Regions from separate parts of the Homo sapiens genome. Here all the other regions are linked to region 3. Evidence: promoter capture Hi-C in 16 types of primary human blood cells and fetal thymus (Javierre and others, 2016). All regions are on one chromosome and are shown on one strand. Each heading gives the region's core, a stretch centred on a gene start or on the middle of the fragment in contact. The rest is flanking DNA. Distances are from core to core; before and after follow the strand shown.

What was found. Contacts are between HindIII fragments. The CHiCAGO score rates a contact against its expected background, and 5 or more counts as called.
Region 1: the fragment with the promoter of SERAC1 here is called in contact with the fragment with the promoter of LINC02901 in region 3 in 1 of 17 cell types (fetal thymus); the score reaches 7.5 in fetal thymus.
Region 2: a contact is called between the fragment with the promoter of ACAT2 here and the fragment with the promoter of LINC02901 in region 3, in 3 of 17 cell types (naive CD4 T cells, fetal thymus and erythroblasts). The highest score is 5.5, in naive CD4 T cells.
Region 4: the fragment with the promoter of TULP4 here is called in contact with the fragment with the promoter of LINC02901 in region 3 in 2 of 17 cell types (activated CD4 T cells and fetal thymus); the score reaches 7.0 in activated CD4 T cells.

The regions. Positions count from the first base shown.
Region 1 is chr6:158,166,890-158,169,589 of GRCh38, reverse strand. It overlaps SERAC1 (serine active site containing 1), which reads left to right and starts at 1,328. Exons shown (of 17, transcript NM_032861.4): 1 at 1,328-1,450. GTF2H5 (general transcription factor IIH subunit 5) reads right to left here and starts at 1,240. Exons shown (of 3, transcript NM_207118.3): 1 at 1,195-1,240. RefSeq lists silencers at 1,241-1,420, 1,461-1,530. The HindIII fragment of the contact is 13,828 bases long and covers 1-2,700 here.
Region 2 is chr6:159,760,722-159,763,421 of GRCh38, reverse strand. It overlaps ACAT2 (acetyl-CoA acetyltransferase 2), which reads right to left and starts at 1,377. Exons shown (of 9, transcript NM_005891.3): 1 at 1,280-1,377; 2 at 369-503. The coding sequence starts at 1,334. It overlaps SOD2-OT1 (SOD2 overlapping transcript 1), which reads left to right and starts at 1,090. Exons shown (of 2, transcript NR_037166.1): 1 at 1,090-1,428; 2 at 1,786-2,700. It also overlaps a transcript of SOD2 not described here. RefSeq lists silencers at 1,405-1,554, 1,575-1,634 and an enhancer at 2,065-2,124. The HindIII fragment of the contact is 5,525 bases long and covers 1-2,174 here.
Region 3 is chr6:158,868,501-158,871,200 of GRCh38, reverse strand. It overlaps LINC02901 (long intergenic non-protein coding RNA 2901), which reads right to left and starts at 1,387. Exons shown (of 3, transcript NR_160980.1): 1 at 1,224-1,387. RefSeq lists enhancers at 394-1,067, 998-1,167, 1,068-1,740, 1,741-2,413 and a silencer at 1,248-1,567. The HindIII fragment of the contact is 6,622 bases long and covers 1-2,700 here.
Region 4 is chr6:158,311,019-158,313,718 of GRCh38, reverse strand. It overlaps TULP4 (TUB like protein 4), which reads right to left and starts at 1,254. Exons shown (of 14, transcript NM_020245.5): 1 at 1-1,254. The HindIII fragment of the contact is 1,254 bases long and covers 948-2,201 here.

The DNA of each region.
Region 1 (2,700 bases), core at 79-2,578, 700 kb after region 3:
ATATTATATATAATATACAATATATTATATATAATATACAGTATATTATATATAATATACTGTATATTATATATAATATACAATATATTATATAATATACAATATATTATATATAATATACAATATAATATATATAATATATAATATATATAATATACAATATATTATATATAATATATAATATACAATATAATATTATATATAATATATAATATACATATTATATATATGTATTATATATAATATACGTATTATATATAATATACATAATATACATATTATATATTATATATAAAATAAATATATATTATATATAAAATACATATATAATATATATATATGTATATATACACTTCGAGACAGAGTCTCACTCTGTCGCCCAGGCTGGAGCGCAGTGTCGTGATGTCGGCTCACTGCAACCTCTGCCTCCCGGGCTCAAGCGATTCTCCTGCCTCAGCCTCCCAAGCAGCGGGGACTACAGGCGCCCGCCACCACGCCAGGCCAAATTTTGTATTTTTAGTAGAGGCAGGGTTTCACCATGTTGGCCAGGCTGGTCTCGAACTCCTGATCTCAAATGATCCACCTACCTCGGCCTCCCAAAGTGCTGGGACAACAGGTGTGAGCCACCGCGCCAGGCCAATTTATTGTATTTTTAGTGGAGACGGGGTTTCACCATGTTGGCCAGGCTGGTCTCGAACTCCTGGCCTCAAGTGATTTGCCCGCCTCGGCCTCCCAATGTGCTGGGATTGCAGGCGTGAGCCACCGCGCCCGGCCTCAGCCACCTCATTTTACATATGAGGAGACCAAAGGAAGAGATTAAGCCGTAGTTCCTGGCCAAAGGAAAAAAGTACAAGCCAGATCTCCAGATCTTGTGCCCCTTCACTAAATAAATCACGTCCCGTGCGGACCTAGGCTGGAAACAAACCACTCAGCGTACGCCCATTTAATTAACTTCCACTTACACCTGGGCGCAGGGCGAGCCCTAGCCCCACAGGAAACCCACGATTAAACGAGGGGGGGACTGCCGTGCGGCCCCGCCAGGAAGGGCCCGGAGAGAGTGGGGGACACCGCCCTGTGCCCCCAGCACCCGGTGGACAGGCTTCTGGGGCTTTTCTCTTCCTCTCCCCTTTCTTTGGGACCCCTCAGTGTTCCCACACCCCACTTTCCCCAGCCGCTCGGACGCTCGCCACACACCTCGGCCCACAGATGCAGAAGCGCCTCGGCGTTGCCGGCAGAGTGCGCCTGCGCCGATACGCCATCGCGCTAGGGACGCTATTGTGGGTGGAGCCAGCCGGCGGGAGGCGGGCCCAGAGCGGGCCGAGGGGGCGGGGTCACGAGCCGCCAGCCGCCGGGTGGAGGGTCCCGGCCGGGAGCCGCGGAAAGAGTAGGGCTCCCCAGACAACGGGGTCCGACGAGCAGTTGGGCACGGGCTGAGTCCGCCTGCCGGCAGGTAGGACGTGAAGGCAGGGGTGGTGTGGGGGCGGACGGGGGCGTCGGCGCAGCTGGGCGCGGTGGGGAGCGGAGAATGGGGAGGGCAGGGACCGGGCACGGCCGAGCACCGCCGTCTGGCGCGCGGACCGGACCGACCAGCTGACGCTCGGCTGGGCGTGAGGGCCTCTCTCTCTGGTGGTCGCGAGCCTGACTCGTCTTTCCCTGTCGCTGCCTTTCTCTGGCTGCTGTCGAGGCCTTGGGGAGTGCACCTGCCGGTCCGTCTTCCCGGGCTCGGTAGTCACGGAGAGATGAGGAGGAGGAGGAAAGGGCCTCACCAGTCACTTCTGAGCCTTGCAGACCACCGCTTCCTGCTCCCTCTCTAACCCCAGAGATGGAATAGATTGAATGCTGAGAGAGCTCTAAACTCGGCAACGGTCATTTTAAAGTGAAAGACCCCAGAAGGTTCTAAAGTTACTCCCTTTCCCCAAGTCTGTTCTGTAAGTCTAAAGGAACACTGTCATTATTTTTACTAGTTGAGATATGAGATTCTTGTTTTCTGTTCCTTAGGTTAAATTGTACTTCCCGCATTAAGCTCATGCTGCCTTTTTTTTTTTTTTTTTTGAGATGGAGTCTCGGTCTGTCTGCCAGGCTGGAGTGCAGTGGCGCGATCTGGGCTCACTGCAACCTCCGTCTCCTGGGTTCAAGCAATTATCCTGCCTCATTCTCCCTAGTAACTGGGATTACAGGCGTGCGCTACCACGCCCGGCTGATTTTCGTATTTTTAGTAGACACGGGGTTTGTCCATGTTGGCCAGGCTGGTCTGGAATTCCTGACATCAGGTGATCCCCCGCCTCGGCCTCCCAGAGTGCTGCGATTACAGGTGTGAGCCACCGCGCCCGACCTCATGCTGCCTTTTTTTTTTTTTTTTTTTTTTTAACATCGTGTGTGTTCATGTGATCGCTAAGGAACCCAGCTCTTCCATTTAGTTCCCTCTTTCTATCCCTCAAATCTTTTCCAACTGGTGATTTCCATATTGTTGCACTCTCTTTAAAATAAAAAAATTGCCTCCAAGTCTTCTTCTTCCCAAGTATCTTTTATTTGCTTTTTTTCATCTTGCATACATTCTCTTCCTTGATCTCATCAGTTCCATTTTTGTGCACTTGATGTGTGTCAGCTATTATTCTAGACGCTTGGGATACAATGGTGAACAGGTAACTAATTTTGGTGGGGGCAGAGAGACTCTGAAATCAGTTAAGGAATAAGTACCAT
Region 2 (2,700 bases), core at 128-2,627, 890 kb before region 3:
ACAGGCCATCATACCTGGCTATTTTATTTTTTGTAGAGACGGGGTCTTGCTTTGTTGCCCAGGCTAGTCTCAAACTTCTGGACTCAAGTGATCCTTCCTCCTCCGCCTCCCAAAGTGCTGGGATTACAGGCGGGAGCCACCCTGCCTGGCCAAGAAGCTGAGTCTCAAGCTGGATAGAAGCTACTGACAGGGCTGGAAGAAGGGGGCCAACAGGAGGAATCATAACAGAGGGAACTCTGAGCAAAAGCAAGGAGGCAAGAACTTGAGTGAGTGAGAGAGTGTGTGAGTGTGTGAGAGTGTGTGTGTGTGTGTGTGTTTATGGGCTGTTTCTAATAAGCCTGACTTCTCCTGGAATCACTGAGACTTACCTGCTGCCAAGACATGTCCAAAGATGACCTCAGACACATCTTCCGGAGCCACAGTGGCCCTCTTCAAGACTTCTTTGATGACAGTGGAGCCCAGGTCCTGGACAGGAACAGCAGCTAAGGCACCATTGAAGGAACCTACAATAGAAAGGCGGAGAGCGTGGACATCACAAGCCTGCGGGTAATACGGGAACCACCTACGAGCAGGGGAGCCTCATGACCCTGTTTGGCAAGGCCACGCGAGGAGGCAGTGCCCTCTCCTCCCACACGTTCCTACACCTGCTGGTCTGAGCAAAGGTCAAGGTGGGTGCCACAACTCGCAGCAGCCGAGGGCTGGACAGGCGACCTCCAGAACGGCCTAGGGACGCCGCTGTAGCCCTTCTATTTCCCCAAATCCGAAGGACTGGATGCGACCCCATGCTTCCCAAACAAAAGGAACCGGCGGGTCAAGGGCGTTGAAAACCATGCGGCACGAAGGAGACGAAGTCACGACTTCTAGCCATTGTGTGACAGCCCGACCCCAGCCCAAAGCCGGGCTCAGACCACCTAGCAGTTCCGCCCCTGCCGCAGGCATTACCGATGGCGCCTCCCGGAGCCGGCCAATCAGGGGCCCCGGAGGAGAACACCTCCCTACGCCAACCAATGGGAGAGGCAGGCCACGCGATGGCTCTACCCCGGGAGCCAATCCAAGCACGAGGGACGGAGTGCGCACATCGGGAGAGGAGAGGGTGGGGCTGTAGCACCAGGTCAGGGAACGCGGGAGCCGCAGGGTTCCAGGGATCCCGCGGCTCCTCGCGGCTTGGCCTGACCGGCTTCCTCCACATACGCCCCTCTCCTACACAAGTCCGGCCCTCGGCGCTCCTGCCGAAGCAGCAGGCGCCTCGGACTCTGCGCGGCTCCCGCCGGCCACTCACCTATGATGGTCCGCGCCGCCGAGACGATGACCACAGGATCTGAGCCTGCATTCATCTTGCTTCTCCTGCCGCCGTCTGCCCTGCGCTGCCTGCAAGCTAGGCAAAGCTCCTCCTCGCAGCCCACAGGCCTGCCGCGGGCGGGACCTGAGGTAGCCCCGCCCCTCGCCCTCCACCTCCCCGCGCACCACCTCCCCGCGCATCCCACTGTGCGCAGGCGCAAGGCCGGAGCAGGGGCGGGCGGAGGCGCGCGGGGCGCGGGGCGCGGGGCGCGGGGCGGAAGTGAGGCCGGGGCGCGGGGCGCGGGGCGGAAGTGAGGCCGGGGTCTGGGCTTGCGGGCAGAACCGCGGACCTCGGACGCATTTACAGAGCGCCTGAAACCCCAGTGTTTCTGGACACCCCAATGTTGGAGTTCCCCGACTTGACGTCTTGGGCTTTTTTTTAAAAAATCTTAGGGTTTCTCGAAACAGTAAAGACTGGGGGGTGACAAAGACTTATCTCTCGTTCAGCTCAGGACTGGAATCCCACGGGCGAGAATCTCGAGTGCGAGCCCGGCCCGCGGCGGGTCTCAGCACAGCTCTGATGGGTCCTTTTGCTCTCGGCGGCTTCGGGAGGTCCTATGCGTTTCTCCTGGCGCCAGTCATTCGCTCGCGTGAGGGGCTTGCTAGGAGCGTCTCGGTGCGAGCCCCCTGCCTTCTAAGATCAACTCTGGCTGTGAACGGGTGAGGACGCCGGGAGCGTCTTAGCGTCACAAAAGTTCCTTTGGTTGACGTTTGGACAGTGAAAGGAGCATGTAACAAGTGGGGTCAGTTTTGTTTAAAACCCTTTCTGACTTCCCAGCCTCTTACTGGGCAAAGTTCATAATTTTTCTGAGCTTTCTAGGGTTTCCAGGCAAGCTTATGAGGGGCCACCGTTACAGCAACTTGTTGGGAACACCTGGATAGTGGAACAAGAAAGCTTTGTCACAAAGTCATGAAGGGGAAAACTGTTGACGGACCTGGAGAATCTTCCTGAAGAACTTTAAAGTTGATTGAAAGAATCATTAAATCCTGGAAACCTACATTAAGACTTTGCAGAGATATGCGGATGGGTCAGATAAATCAGAGAAGGTAAAGAGTGTAGGCCCCAGAGGTGGGGCAATAGAGAAGGAAAAAAATTGCATAACAGTGCAATTTCAGGAGAAATCTTTAGGGTCTGGAATAGTGGTGAAATCAGCTGTCTACTCTGCTAAGAACTCAGCAGCACACTGAAGTCTCTTCAGTTGTCTTCAATGTGTTTCCTGTCCCCTAACATATCTGAGTCCAAGGAATTCAAGGAATGCCTCCCGTGGCTTTTGCTCTATTCTATCCCATTTTCCCCTTACTCCCTGGCCACTTCTGAGTCTTTGTGGGCTTACTCTCACATCCCCTTAACATGTTCCCCAA
Region 3 (2,700 bases), core at 138-2,637:
AAATAAATAAATAAATAAAGTCACAAAAAATCTCGCAATGTTTTAAGAAAGTTTACAAATTTGTGTTGGGCCACATTCAAAACCGTGGCCTGTGCGGGTTGGACAAGTTTGGAATAAAGCATAATGCTTGATTGCAATTACATGAAGTTTAAGAGTAGACACAACTCATACTTGGTAATTTAAGTCCAAATGAATAGTGGTTACCTCTGGGGAAGTACTACTGACCGGAAGGAGCAGTTGGAAACCTGGGGTGATGGAAATGTTCTAGATCTTGACCTAGGGGCTAATGACATGTGTATACATATGTAAAACTTCACCCAGCTGTCCTCTTAATTTCTGTGCGATTTATTGTGTGTAAATTATATCAGTTAGGAAAAAATAAGAAAAATGAAGGAATGATGGAGAAAAAAAGAAATGAAGAGAAACGTAACGAAGGAAGAAAGAAGGGAGGAAGGGAGGGAGGGAGAGAGGAAGGGGGGATTAAACCCAAGCACGGAGGGGGAGAGATGCTCCTCAAAAATATGCTATCAGTCATGTAGTGTTATTTATTTATTTATTGAGATGGAGTCTCGCTCTGTTGCCCAGGCTGGAGTGAGTGGCACGATCTCGGCTTACTGCAACCTCCACCTCCCAGGTTCAAGAGATCCTCCTGCCTCAGCCTCCCGAGTAGCTGCCATTACAAGCACACGCCATGGTGACCGGCTATTATCTGCATCTTAAAGATGGGGAAAGTTTGAGGTTTCCTGATGTGTTCAGCGTCACAGACTGGGTGAGTGACTCAAGCTGAGGCTAAAACCCAGGTGTGTAGGGCACCAAAGCCTTTGTGATTCCACCTCCTACAGCTCAGGTCACTTCCTCGGAGAAAGGTGACTCCTAGAAATGCCTCCCACCTGGAACTGATCTCCTCCTGGGAAGAACGTCTGTCTTATCGCCGTCGACCTTAGGCATGGACACCCTTCTGTCCCCCACCCACAACTGTGAGCCTGCTCAGGAGGCACAGCCGCGTTCATTCATTTTAGGCCTCCTCAAGGGCTCAGCGCCTGCTAAGCAGATGCGCGTTCCTGTAGGACAAGGGGTGGCCACTGGAGACGCGGGTGCGACGCAGGCGATCACGCCCTCGGACGACGCTGCGGACTGCGCTTCCTTCCGAAGAGGGAACCGTTGAGAAGAGTGAAGCGATGAGTTATGCCTCACTGGAAACCAACCGCGTCCGTGTGACTCACTTAGAAACTCACTGTTACATATTTGGAGCCTGAGCTGACGACCTTCCGGGTACACGTCAGGCAGAAGCAGGTGCGCGGTGGGAGTGTCCGCCCCGCCCCGCCGGTCGCGCCGGCCCCGCCCCCCTCACCTGCGCGCGCAACCCCACCCCAGCGCGAGGCTCTGCACCGGCCGCGCCCGCCATCCAGCTTTTATATGGCGCTATTTTGGTCGCGCGCCCTGATTGGCCGGGAGCGGGCGACGACACGCTCGCGCGCCTCAGGGAGGGGCCAAGATCTGGGGGAGGGGAGCTTCTGGCAGCCGCGCGGATCCGGGGGCGGCGGGGCGGGACTGCTGCGGTCTCTGGGGGTGCTTTGGGGCTTCTGTGCCTAGTCTGCAATCTGTTAGTGGGGTTATATTTTAATAAAAGAGCTTGTGTGTCCGAAGGGGATTTGCCAAGAACCAAACTCACCCTTCTGGGAGGGAGTTGCCAGATGGCGGGAACAGGCGGCGTAAACCTTACCAGACGTGAGCCCAGGCTGCTCAAGTGTCATTCGCGTCTTGAAGCTCTTGCCCGCCTCCCTTTGCAAGCGCGTCTAATGCCAACTCTACCTTGCCCTTTGCTAAACCAGCCCTCTAATGTGTTATCGTGCCTCACGTCAGACAATGGCTGGGCCTGTCTCTCTTTCCCCTTGGTTCTGTCCTCTGCCCTTCTCTTAAGCCAGAAGAACAAAACACTCCTTAGAATCGCTGGAGGATCTCATTTCCACCACATTCCCGTGTCCGGAGCCGAAGAGCCACGTCTGACCCTCACTGGTCTGGCTGTCCACCAATCAGGCAGCATTGCTTCTCTGAGTCTCAAGGTTATTAAATTTCTTCTGGTGGCAGACTGGTTTTGTACTTTGGTGAAAGTGACCAAATAGGTACGAAGTGTGATTCATCAAAAATTCTTACACTTAAAAAGATAAGCCAAAAGGATCATTCGAAGCCACCACTCCATATTAGATGGGAACTTAGCTTGAAAGGGGTTCTCTTAAGGATTTCTATTTACTTCTTTGAATTACAAATATCATCTCTGGTTGGAAAGCCTATAAACGCCTCTGAGATTTCCTGAGTTCACAACTTTGAAGATCATTTGCAGCTGGATGCAGAAAAAACAAACCTAGTAATTGTTGAATGTGGACATCAATAAGAATTAAGTACTTTTGGCCCAAAGGCAGTGGTTCACACCTGTAATCCTAGCACTTTGGGAGGTCGAGGCAGGAGGATAACCTGAGGTCAGGAGTTCCAGACCACCCTGGCCAACATGGTGAAACCCCATCTCTACTAAAAATACAAAAATTGGGTGGGCGTGTTGGCGCATGCCTGTAATCCCAGCTACTCAGGGCTGAGGCACCGAATTGCTTGAACCCAGGAGGCAGAGGCTGCAGTGAGCAGAGATCATGTCACTGCACTCCAGCCTGGGCGGCAGAGCAAGACTTGTCTCCAAAAAGAACTTTC
Region 4 (2,700 bases), core at 5-2,504, 560 kb after region 3:
TGGAGAAAGAGCATCGTTAATTAAGTGGTGATCAAGAAACGGTTTTCTTCTTTTTACTCCACTTGGTTATTCTCATTCAGCCTGAGATTCCAGTTTAGTGTAATATGATTCCAGAGACAAAGGGTTGCAAATACATAGATTTCAAGTAACTTAAGGCTTTAAGAATCCCTCTAGCTCGAATTTTTCTCTTCAAAAGTTCGGATGCAGAGACAGAATACACAGGATCATCTTCCTTCTGAAGCCACCCTCTAGCATGTTTCCTGAACTAGACAAATTTCTGCTGCTAAAGCTGAAAAAGATTGCATAAAGGGAAAAAAAGGCACACAAACCGTGCAAAACAGACCAGAGTTTGTGCAGACAAGAGTCCAAATTTTAGGAAGAAAAACAGACTCTCTCCTTGTTGTTTCAGAACCAGAAACTTTCCACCTCAAAGCTTGGCCCTGTGTCCCCGGGGAACGCAGGGCTCCATCGGACTGCTCCTCCACCAGCCGGCGCACCCCTCAGTGCCATAGAGGCTAGAAAGAAGGCCCCTTCACTCAAGAGGCAGAATGTTCCAGCGCTCTTACAGTGGTCCCAGTGTTTGCCCTGGGTGAGTCTTAAATCCTCTTGCTGACAAAACAGAGCCACGTGGCAAGATTTTGTTTCTTTTGCTCGTCTCCCTTCTCGCTCCCCCAGTTAGCACTCCCCTTTTCTGCTCCTAAAGATCTTTTTCCATCTTGATGAAAAAAGCTAATCTTAGAATTAAGTCCATCAGGTAATCTTCTCATACGCAAGTCTTCTTGGACTTGACAGGGAAGTTAATCCCTTAAAACAAAAGCAGAAGCCAGAGTCAGATTCCCCCAGCTGTCTCCCTAGAGAGTGATAGTGTTTTGCTGATGGGTGCTTTCCTGTTCACATTCAGAGACTGTCTCCAAACACCACACCACTAGTCCAACAAAAAGAAAGCTTTGCTTGGATTTTCCTTGATATTTATTTAATAATTATTGGTTTCAATTGCTATTTTACAATATTATCCTATAGATGCAGGAAAAAAGGGGGGGAATAATAAATTAAAATTTCTCAAATACAGTTAATTAAGATAGGCAAAGGAATCAGTTCATTATTCAAACTTGTCCCATCATACTTGAACTTGCTTTCCTCTAGCCATAACCACAGTAGGAGTTACTTTTCAGTCTAGAATTTTAATCCGTCCAAATCACCAAACCCACTGAAAAATAAAGTGCAACAAACACTGTGTGAGCCGCTGCAATGTTTGAAATCACACTTCTTTCTCAGTCACCTTCTCACTTAGTTCCTTCTTTAAACTGGAGAATATTTTTGTGGTTTAATCTGCGCAAATTTTTTTTTCTTCTTTTTGCAGACTTTCTTTACCCGTGCAGACCATATGGAAAACTGGCCATTAGTGATGTATTTTTCTCCCCGGGCTCCTGAGCCCACTGGTGTCAAGTTGCTCCATCTGATTCTTAAATTAATTTTCATCAGTTGTAAAACTCTCAAGTGTGCACAAGAATGAGCCTGTCTTCCCGTGTGAATGTGTAAGTACAGAAAGAAGGTTTTAAATGCACATAGACACACACTCTTCAACTGCCATACGAAGCGTCTGCTTCCCCAGTCATTTCAGGAACCATCAGATTATTCACGGCTGGGAGGCCCTGGAGTCTTACAAATCTGTTTAAAAAAAAAAAAAGATATAAAATTTAAAAACTTTAAAACACTGGAAAATAAAGGTTTTAAGAATAATTGCTGAAACTGAAATGAGAGACCCATCTTTACACTTACATCAAATGGAGCTACTGACTGCACTGAATGGTAAAATCCAATAGTGAAAGGATACACCTCACCAGACTCAAGACAACACACAACAAATGAGAGTTCTGCCTGCCACTGATCGTTGTATTCAATTTGTCAGCAGCTGGGCACATCTGAATGAAATCATAACTGCCATTCTTCCACACTGAACTGTACTTTCTAAGAGACTGAACTCCGAATGTGAGACTCTACCCCTCCAGAGACCATGGTCGCTGTTTAAGCAGGCATCCTCAAAAAGGAGACTGAAATGACTCAGGCAAGTTATCTGGATTGATTTTTTCACGATTAATAAAAGATATTCCCTCAAGACACAAAGCAGTAAGGGCCTTTAAAACTCATTCGTCCCTGATGGCTGGCAGGTCTCGGAGCAAAGCGCAGCTGTTTTCTAAGCTTTTATGTGGTCTACCAGCAATAAAGTTCTAGAGAATCTGTCTCTAGCAAATCCATTCCATCTTCTTCCTACTGCCTGAAGTCCAGGCTGCATCACATCCTCTACAAACACGAGAACACTCTGTCCCTAACTTACTCATCCTCCCTGCCCTCCCGCCCCGCCAGTCCTTCCAGAAAGCAGAGTGGACTTTCTCAAATTCAGCAGACTCTCTCAGTCTCCTGGGGCAGCTGAAGCGGCCCAGCCCCATCCCACAGGAACTGGACACTGAAAGGGAAGGGAAGGGCCCAGGTGTTCGCATTTCTAATAAGCTCCCAAGAGATGCTAATGCTGCTGGGCAGGGAACCAGGCTTTGAGAACTACTGGCCTGTAGCATCAAGTCCCAGCAAAAGACTCTACTTTCATCATAATACTAGGACATAATTTGCCTTCTTCCGTGTTCACATTTGTACCCATGGTGCAAAATCAACAGTGGGTCAAACTGCAAGCTCTTTAACACTAAT